2 separate regions of the Homo sapiens genome follow, and region 1 is linked to region 2. Evidence: promoter capture Hi-C in 16 types of primary human blood cells and fetal thymus (Javierre and others, 2016). All regions are on one chromosome and are shown on one strand. Each heading gives the region's core, a stretch centred on a gene start or on the middle of the fragment in contact. The rest is flanking DNA. Distances are from core to core; before and after follow the strand shown. Region 1 holds the start of MYL4 (myosin light chain 4). Region 2 holds the start of TBX21 (T-box transcription factor 21).

Evidence for each region. The method cuts DNA at HindIII sites, captures the fragments that hold promoters and counts their contacts. A CHiCAGO score of 5 or more calls a contact.
Region 1: a contact is called between the fragment with the promoter of MYL4 here and the fragment with the promoter of TBX21 in region 2, in 2 of 17 cell types (neutrophils and naive CD8 T cells). The highest score is 6.2, in neutrophils.

The regions. Positions count from the first base shown.
Region 1 is chr17:47,206,234-47,210,969 of GRCh38, forward strand. MYL4 (myosin light chain 4) reads left to right here and starts at 3,115. Exons shown (of 7, transcript NM_002476.2): 1 at 3,115-3,324. The coding sequence starts at 3,190. The HindIII fragment of the contact is 17,980 bases long and covers 1,488-4,736 here.
Region 2 is chr17:47,729,836-47,734,485 of GRCh38, forward strand. TBX21 (T-box transcription factor 21) reads left to right here and starts at 3,401. Exons shown (of 6, transcript NM_013351.2): 1 at 3,401-4,110. The coding sequence starts at 3,620. RefSeq lists a promoter at 1,409-3,408, silencers at 3,220-3,759, 3,790-3,959 and an enhancer at 4,140-4,189. The HindIII fragment of the contact is 7,327 bases long and covers 1-4,650 here.

The sequences.
Region 1 (4,736 bases), core at 1,865-4,364, 520 kb before region 2:
GCCCCATTCGGCTTTCCCAGCTTTCTAACCTCATAGCTCTGTTCCCATGCAGACCTGATATTTTGCTTCTTAGAATTTAGAAAAGAAAGGGGAGTGGGGTGGGGGAAAAAAGGAAAAGAAGAAAAGGAAAGAACAACCTTCCAGCTTTTTCTTCTGAGGATCATACGTCTTTGTAGAATAACTACAACAATAACATAATACTAACTTGTTGTGTGTGCGTGTGTGTTTTAACTGGAAGGGGGCATGTGTCATTCAGTGATTATTTAAAAAAATTTTAAGCCATGGAACCATTAGAAAATGATACTGTTTTACATACTGGGAGCTCCAGTATGTAAAACACAGGAGTGGTGGTGACTGAAGTGATGGTGGTGGAAGGAGCTCCAAGGTCTGGCCTTTCTATGTACCCTGCAGCCAGAAGCATGTCACCCTATAAAGCAAGATAGCAAGATTGCTAGTCTCAGGATTCTGTTGAACATGGTTTGAAAGTCTCCTGATTGTTTTTCCTTTTAAAATAAGCAAGCTGAGGCCCAGAGAGAGGAAGTGGCTGGCAGAGTCAGGACTAGTGCCTGGGTCTCCCAGCTTCTATCCTGCAGCTCTTTACAGAAATCCCAGTTTGTATATTTTTGCACAAACTCCGCAGGATGCAGTCCAGGAAGGGATGCAGGTGGAGGTGGAGAAGGAGGAGGGCCTGGGCTTCCACTTTTTCTCTTTCCTCGTCACCAACAACCTGAACTCCCAACCCCTGTGGGGAATGGGGTAGGTCAAGGAGAGGACTGACAGGGATTATAGAAGAGTGCGAGCGAAGGTACAAGGAATCAAGTTTGGTAGCCGGCAAGGAAGAGAGGTGAGGCAGAAGATGAGGGGAGGAGGTGAGGTGCACAGAGCAAAGGAGCCACCATCCCAGCTCAGGACCAGGGCTGGGCTAGAATCTGGGCCCTGGTCTCGTTCTAGTATTCCCTTGAGCAAGTCCTGGCCCTTTTTCCTGCCCGTTTCCTTTGAGGGCTTCTCTGTCACCACCAGTGAGCGTGTATAGGCTACAGGAGGAGCAGTGAAGAGCAGTGTGCTACAGAGAGCACTGCACCCCAGGAAACAGAATTAGTTGGCCCAGCTCTGCCTATAAGTAGCTGAATGTCTTGAGGCAACTTCAACGTTTCCCTGGACCTTAGATTCCTTGCCTGTAAAACAGCATGGGGCCAGATGATCTCTAAGGGTCCTTCTGGCTCTGAAGGCAATGATCTGGGGCATGGAACCTGTAGTTAGAGAGCTGGGAAATGGGCAGATGTGGGCTCCAGGGCACCCAGAATTGCAGGCTTAGGAGCTAACAGCAACCAGGATTCTGTAGTCTAGCAATCTTGCTTTACAGGTGAGGAAACTGGGCCTAGAAAGGCGAAGTGATTTTTTTGCCTCTCTCAGCTTTATTCCTCTTTTCCTCTGAACTGTAGAGTCTAAAGATTCAGCACAAAGCAGTTTTGTGTAGTGGATACATAAGCTTTTTTGTTGTTATTTTTCTGAATTATTTTGTTGACTTTCAAAGTTTTTTTTACATAAACAGTAAATGCTCGTTATAAAAATTTCCATTAATACAGGAAGTGAAAAAAGTAAAAAACTGCAAATTGCTGTTATCCTCCCACCCTTACCCCCTAGGTCCCCAGAGGTGTCTCTGTTAACAGTTCAGCGTGTATCCATCCTGACTCCTCCAATAAATGCAGAAACTTGTATGTCTCTCCCCGACAACTGGATTATCATATACATTATTCAAGCATAGGCTTTAGACTCAGACATATCTACATCTAATCCCAGCTTATAGCTAATTATTTGAGTGACCTTGGCCAAGTTGTTCATCCAGTTTTAGTCTCAATCTCCCCATGTGTAAAGTGAAAATAATAATAGTATCTACCTGGCCTGGCGTGGCGGCTTATGCCTATAATCCCAGCCCTTTGGAAGACCGAGGCTAGTGGATCCCTTGAGCTCAGGAGTTCAAGACCAACCTGGGCAATTTAGCAAGACCTCATCTCTACTGAAAAACAAAAAACAAAAAAACTCCCCCAAAATTAGCCAAGTGTGCTGGTGTGCACCTGTAGTCCCAGCTACTCGGAAGGCTGAGGTGGGAGAATCGCTTGAGCCAGGAAAGACGAGGCTGCAGTGAGCTGTGATTGCACCACTGCACTGCAACCTGAGCAACAGAGCGATACCTTGTTTCTGTTAAAACAAACAAACAAACAAAATAGTATCTACCTTATAGGATCATGGTGAAGATTTAATGAGATTTTATATGAATAGCACTTAACAGTTCCTGGTACTGATAGTAGTAAGCACTACACACACACACACACACACACACACACACACACACACAGAGCACAGAATGAGTTAGAGGTAAAGTGAAAACTAAACCCCAAGTTTTCTGACCCTCAGTCTCCTCGACTTTCTACCACATCTCTCTGCTTCTCTCCTAGGTGCCTAGGCATGGGTTCAGTGCTCACTACTTGTTGAATGAATGACTGAGGTTGTGTGTAAGGGGGTAGATCTAGGGATCTGAGGTCTGTGGAGTTCCTGGGATGCCTGCTCTGGAAAATGGAGGCTTTCATCCTGTGAGTTGGGAGGGTGTGGGGCAGTGTGGGTTGGCTGGACCAGCTGTTGCTTCAGAGCTCCATGCCTGGAGAGTTGGGCCTCTAGGCAGAGCTGAGGGCCCAGAGTGGCTCTCAGCTTAAAGGATCTTGGCTTAGAAGGAATGTGCAGTGGGCTGCCTCTGCTCGGGAGGGGCTAAAAAAAGCCTCACCCTCCCCTGGGCTTTGTGTGAGGCTTATCAACTGCTCAAGTCAGCTCATCTCTCTGGCTGCTCCGGCATATTTGAGAAGGTCTGTTTCCCTGGTCCTTCTGGGTTTCCACCAATTGGCAAGAAGGGATCAGCCTGTCCTAGAGGTGAAGAGAGAGCTGTGGCATGAAGGGGAGGGGGCTGGTGGCCCCAAACCTGGTGACAATACACAGTTGTCAGCTGTACCCTGCTGGCGTTTCTTCCTTTTATAGTCAGCAGCAGTTGCTCTTGCTTTCACCCAGCCCCTCTGTGGGGGCTCCTGCCCAGGATAAAAGGGAAGGGAGGCAGCCCAGGCTCCTATCTCATCTCCCAGACGCCACGTCTCTCGGTTTCTTCTTAGATCACTCCTCTGCCAAAGATCCCAACAAGACAACATGGCTCCCAAGAAGCCTGAGCCTAAGAAGGAGGCAGCCAAGCCAGCTCCAGCTCCAGCTCCAGCCCCTGCACCAGCCCCTGCCCCAGCTCCTGAGGCTCCCAAGGAACCTGCCTTTGACCCCAAGAGTGTAAAGGTAAGTGAGGCTCAGCCATTGGGATAGAGGTGGGGATGACATTGAGAGTCCTTTTGCTCTGGAGCTTAGCGATCTACTTTATGTGGGCTGGACTGGGATGAGGACTAGGGTGTCCATGCCCCAGATCGCAGTCCCATGGGGCAGTGGAGTGGGTGTTGGGGCTGATGAGGGGGAGATTGAGTCATAAACCTTTTCCGTCAAGAATGAGGTGCTGCTTTGAGGGAGCCCTGTCCTGCTACCCTAGATTTGTGCAGCTAAGTTGGGAATGGGGGGAGGTACAACCAACCATCCATCCACCCTTTTATAAGGCATTATGAGGACCACCATAGCAAAGTAAAACAGACTAGCCTTTTCCTAGGAGGTAGTGGGATATCTTTATGGAGAACAGACAGATCATGGCAGCTGCCAGTGTAACTTGGAGTAAGTGATATAAACAGTCAGGGAATATCCTCCCTGTGCATGGCAGTTTGGGAAAGGCTTCACTCACAAACACTCTTACGGCAGGTGAGGGCAGGGTGGGAAGGAGGTTGTGGTTAAGGTAAGAGGAGCCCGGATTCCTCTCTCTCTTTCCTTACCCAGACGGGCCTTTCCTTCTGTGGCCTTAGCCTGGGTTCCTATCTGTAGCATGCAGAGGACTGGCCCACCCTGGGCTGAGACCCTCTCTCCAACCGGGTCAGGAAGCTGGGCCTGGTTCCTTTGCCCCACCCTGCTCTCCTCACACAAAACATTCCTCTCCCTGGAGCTGGTGTGGGCCCTGCATGCTGACTCAGTCATTTTAGACCTCCCAGCTCTCTGGCCCAGCTGCTGAAGGAATGGAACTGGTGGGAGAGGGGTGGGCTGAAGAGGGAGGGGGCCAGAGACCTCTGAAGAGGAGCAGTTTTAAGCCTTGGCACCAGAGTGGAAAAGGTCAAGTGGCTACTGGTATGAAGAGCTATTAATAACAGGTTGGGAGTGCTGAGCCCCCAGGGATCTCAGCCTTAGGACAGGGCTGGGGGTGGTGAGGGATCAGGTCAAAATAAGAGCACAGGACAAGGTTCTGTGACAAGCAGGCAGGGAAATTAAAACCCAGAGCTCTAATTGTATGACCTCCCTGCCCTCTGAGAATTCCTCTCATACCCACAGCCGGGATAACCCTACAAGTATTATGCCAAAGACCCAGTCCCCGCAAGGGACAGGAACTGCTTAGCCAAGAGATGGAGGCAATTGTCCCTTTTCTGAGCTTGGTTATGGCTCACTCTGGGGAAACTGAGGCTACTGTAGGACCCTGAAAACACCTGCAGGTTTTCTAGGTCATACATCACTCCATTTACAAGCTGAGCCTGGCAGGAAAAGCTGACTATTTCACCCTTCAGGATCCCTCCTCGCCTTTATTTCTGATTTGTTCCCATAAAGCACTGTGCCTTTGGGTGGGT
Region 2 (4,650 bases), core at 2,151-4,650:
TTGAAAGGAAGCCCTGAACGTTTGCAGAGGACAACAGCGTGGAGAGAACCAGTGTCTAGGCTGTGGGATTAGGCATGATTTTCTTTTCTGTTTTCTAAACCTTTTCTTTTCTTTTTCTTTTTGTTTCTTTGAGACCGAGTCTCCCTCTGTCACTCAGGCTGGAGTGCAGTGGCACAGTCTCAGCTCACTGCAACCTCCTCCTCCTGGGGTCAAGTGATTCTCTTGCCTCAGCCTCCTGAGTAGCTGGGATTACAGGGGCCAGCCACCACACCTGCTAATTTTTATTTTTGTTTTTGTTTTTGTTTTGAGATGGAGTCTTGCTCTGTCTCCCGGGCTGGAGTGCAGCGGCACGATCTCGGCTCACTGCAACCTCTGCCTCCTGGGTTCAAGTGATTCTCCTGCCTCAGCCTCCTGAGTAGCTGGGATTACAGGCGCCCATCATGCCCAGCTAATTTTTGTGTTTTTAGTAGAGATGGGGTTTTGTCATGTTGGCCAGGGTAGTCTAGAACTTCTGGCCTCAAGTGATTTGCTGGCCTTGGCATCCCAAAGTGTTGGGATTACAGGCATGAGCCACCACGCCCGGCCTGTTTTCTAAACCTTTTCCAGTGTTAGTATGATTCTTCCTCATTCTTGTGGGAAGAGCACTGGCCTGGGAGTCAAGAGACCTGGGTTCTAGCTTCAGCTCTGCCACAAATGCACTGTGTGAGTTTGGTGTCTTATTCCATTTTGCATAGTTACCATCCACCGTGTCTCATAAAATGTGATGCTGGTTGGAGGCCATGTCTCTCTCATTCCTGGACACTTATCTTGTGTTTCTTCACTCCGGTCTCACCAGGACCAGCCTCATAATGCTCCCTGTATTGATGGGATAGAGAGGGCTGGGAGGAGCAGCCATGGGGAAGTGAGGGGATCCCAGGGGGCCTCATCTCCTCACTCCTCTTCTCCCACCTTTCCAGCCCCAGGGCCCGGGAGGAGGGTGAGGTGGCAGCTGGAGGAGAAGGTGTCACTGCCAGGGCCCTTATTCTCACCCAAGCTGGCAGAGGGGCGGGACTGGCAGCAGTGACACCAGGGCCACTCAGCCCCCGCTTTTCACAAGCACTTTCTTTTTTGGGTGGAAGAAATTGGAGAGAGGGGGTGAGAAATCGGGGATTGAGGAACCAGGCTGTAAGACCCTATAACAGCCTGTCAGGTTCTAGAGAGACCACCCCCAGCCTTCCTCTTCCTCCAGAGGCATGGCCCCAGGGCCACCTGATTCTGAGATTCATAATTCCACCTGCCCCAGAAAGCTGGGTGGGAGCTCATGTCATCCTGTTCAGAGGCAAGGGGATGAATCACTTGACCTGAGGATTAATGTGGAAAAGAGGAGGGGGAGAGAGAGGGAGGAGCAAGACTCCATTTGATCTTCAACAGCCAAGCACTGAGCAAAAATGTCCCCCAAAGGGGTGTCAGCATTCAACAGTCTCACATCTCCTAGGGAATCAGTCATTCAGGAGGGTCTTACTGAAAGCTCTCATGTTTCCCCAAAAGTAGTGAAGGATCCCAAGGTCACCCTCTCTTCCAAGCAATGCTGCCCCACTTTGAACATCAGGCAGAAACTTCCCTGTTCCTTAAGGTACGGAGAAATGGTGGGTAAGGTGTTGGGGAGGAGGCCAGTCCTGTGTTTCTGGTACTGTCATGTATCCGGTCTCCAACCTCAAAAGATGTGCTGATTCTCTCTCCCCCAAGCCTCCCTGGGTCATGCCCACCTCCTGGAGTCCCCAGCTTTGCCTTTGCCTGCCAACTTGCCTCTTGGTTCAGCTCTATTTGGGAGCAGAGAGTCCCCATAGGCCCCTAAGGGTGAAGCCCTGTCAGGCTGGGACAGAAATGTAGAGCTGGGGCCAGTTCCCAGGGGAGAACTGGGGAGGACTGGGGTGAAGGTAGAGAGAGGAGAAGTTAAACTTTAACATGACAAAAATATTAAAGTATTTTTCAAAGTACTCTTAAAAATGTAAATCTTTATCTATATACTGATATGCAAAATATTCCATGACACCTTGTGGAGTGAAAAAAAAGTACACATTATAAAGCAGCATGTGTAGTGTTTATATAAATTATATATTTGTGCATGTGTGCAAAAGACAGAGACAGAGAGTATATAAGGAGTGAGGTCTCAGAGGGTGTTCACTGAAATGTTAATCCTGTTTGGCTTTAGGGGGTGGAATTTGGGGTGATTTATACAGTCTTGTTTTTACTTTTCTGTGCTGCTTAAATTTCCTATATAAGTATGTTTCATCTTTATACACAGGAAAACTCCCAATGATGCTATTTTCAATTGGGGGGGGGGAAACGGATAGTTTTCATCATAAAAGGAGTCTAATACATTAGTTAACATAAAAGGAAAATGGAGAAAGAAAAGCCTCCATCGTCCTATCTCCGAGGCAGCCCTTCAGAGCATGTGGTGGGTTTCCTTCCTGTCAGCCGGCTCTGAATCTGTTCAAAGCAGCTTTTCCATCCAGGTATAATAATAGATTGGAAAGTGCTGCACACGTACACCCTCTCATGTAAGGCTTGCAGCCCCCCTGAAAAGTAGATCTGTTTATTTCCCCCAGTCTATGGATGAGGCACGTGAGGTTGACTTTCAGGCAAGGAAAATGACTTGCCTGGGTCACATATACCTGGCAGGCAGAGCCAGACCTGGGACTCTCAGCACTGGCAGCCCAATGCTACTTCCAGTGCCCATGACTGCCATGCAGGGTAGGGGAGCTTTTGTGGGCCCTGCCAGGCCCAGCTCAGGGCCCTGCAAACCCCTGGCTGCTGCTGATGCAGTGCGCTTTAAGGAACATTTCCTGTTGTCCATCAGGTTCCAGGTCTGCCCCCAGGGCTAGAGCTACAAGATGCAGCCAACTCAGCACATGTGGACCTCTGGTGGGGAGAAAGAGGGCAACCCGAAAGGTCACTTAGCACAGAGTCTGGGCACACAGTAGGTATCAATAAAGATCGATTGAATGTTCATGGTCAAAGTTGCTTCTAGTGTGCCCGTGCTCCGAGCCTCTGAGTGCCAGGAGAATGCCCAGCGAGTCCCACTTGGGCCATCTCGGAAGGCTTCCTGTAGGAGAGGGCCTTTGAGCTGAGACTTCAAAGCTGGGCTGAATTTCCCCGAGGGTCCAGAAGAGAGCCACGGGCTGGTGTGTCAGGCAGCGGAGCTGACACTCCCAGAAAGCAAGATCTTCGAACTACAGGGTGCGCGCAGGCTCTCGCTTCTCTCCACCATGGGGGGCCCTGCAGTACTCGCCAAGAGCGTAGAATTTGCCTAGTATTAGCCACGAGAGGGCGGGGTGGGGCGAGGCGGAGCAGGGCCGAGGTGGCGGAGTGGGGGGGAGCCGGAGAGCTTCATAAAGCCACAGCAAAGCGCTGCGACTCTAGTGACAGCGGCCCGCTGGAGAGGAAGCCCGAGAGCTGCCGCGCGCCTGCCGGACGAGGGCGTAGAAGCCAGGCGTCAGAGCCCGGGCTCCGGTGGGGTCCCCCACCCGGCCCTCGGGTCCCCCGCCCCCTGCTCCCTGCCCATCCCAGCCCACGCGACCCTCTCGCGCGCGGAGGGGCGGGTCCTCGACGGCTACGGGAAGGTGCCAGCCCGCCCCGGATGGGCATCGTGGAGCCGGGTTGCGGAGACATGCTGACGGGCACCGAGCCGATGCCGGGGAGCGACGAGGGCCGGGCGCCTGGCGCCGACCCGCAGCACCGCTACTTCTACCCGGAGCCGGGCGCGCAGGACGCGGACGAGCGTCGCGGGGGCGGCAGCCTGGGGTCTCCCTACCCGGGGGGCGCCTTGGTGCCCGCCCCGCCGAGCCGCTTCCTTGGAGCCTACGCCTACCCGCCGCGACCCCAGGCGGCCGGCTTCCCCGGCGCGGGCGAGTCCTTCCCGCCGCCCGCGGACGCCGAGGGCTACCAGCCGGGCGAGGGCTACGCCGCCCCGGACCCGCGCGCCGGGCTCTACCCGGGGCCGCGTGAGGACTACGCGCTACCCGCGGGACTGGAGGTGTCGGGGAAACTGAGGGTCGCGCTCAACAACCACCTGTTGTGGTCCAAGTTTAATCAGCACCAGACAGAGATGATCATCACCAAGCAGGGACGGTGAGTGCGGCGCGCCGGCCCTTGGGGCCTCTGTGCCCGCGCCGGAACAAGAACGTCTCGTCTGTTTTTCTGGCTCGACAATGCTTCTGACTCCGTGTCCCTCACTGCTTTGGCTTCAGCGTAGGGAGACAGGGGAATGGGGTTGTTAGGAGGACAGGGAAAGCTCCGGAGGGGCGTCTGTGCCCAGGCTGTTGCACCAACAGCCAGAGGACTCACAAGGGAGACGGGTGAGTGCGGGACAGTGAGAAGTCACCTTGATTTAGGGGAAGGGTGACTGTGGCTTCACCTAGAATTGGTGTGCGCCCCTGCCCCACTCTCTACTGTAGAGGAGTCGCAGCGGGCAGTGAAAGCCTGTGCTCTGGGCGGACAGGACGCCTGGGCCTCCTGTGTGGGAAACTGGAGGGGAAGGGAGCCCCTTATCTCCGGGCCCCCTGCGCCCACCTCCCCCGGCTCCTTTGCTGCTGGTGTGCTCAGGTCAGCTTTAGTGGTGGTAGTGGTGGTGGTAGCGGTGGTGGTGGTGTGTGTGTACGGGGGGAGATT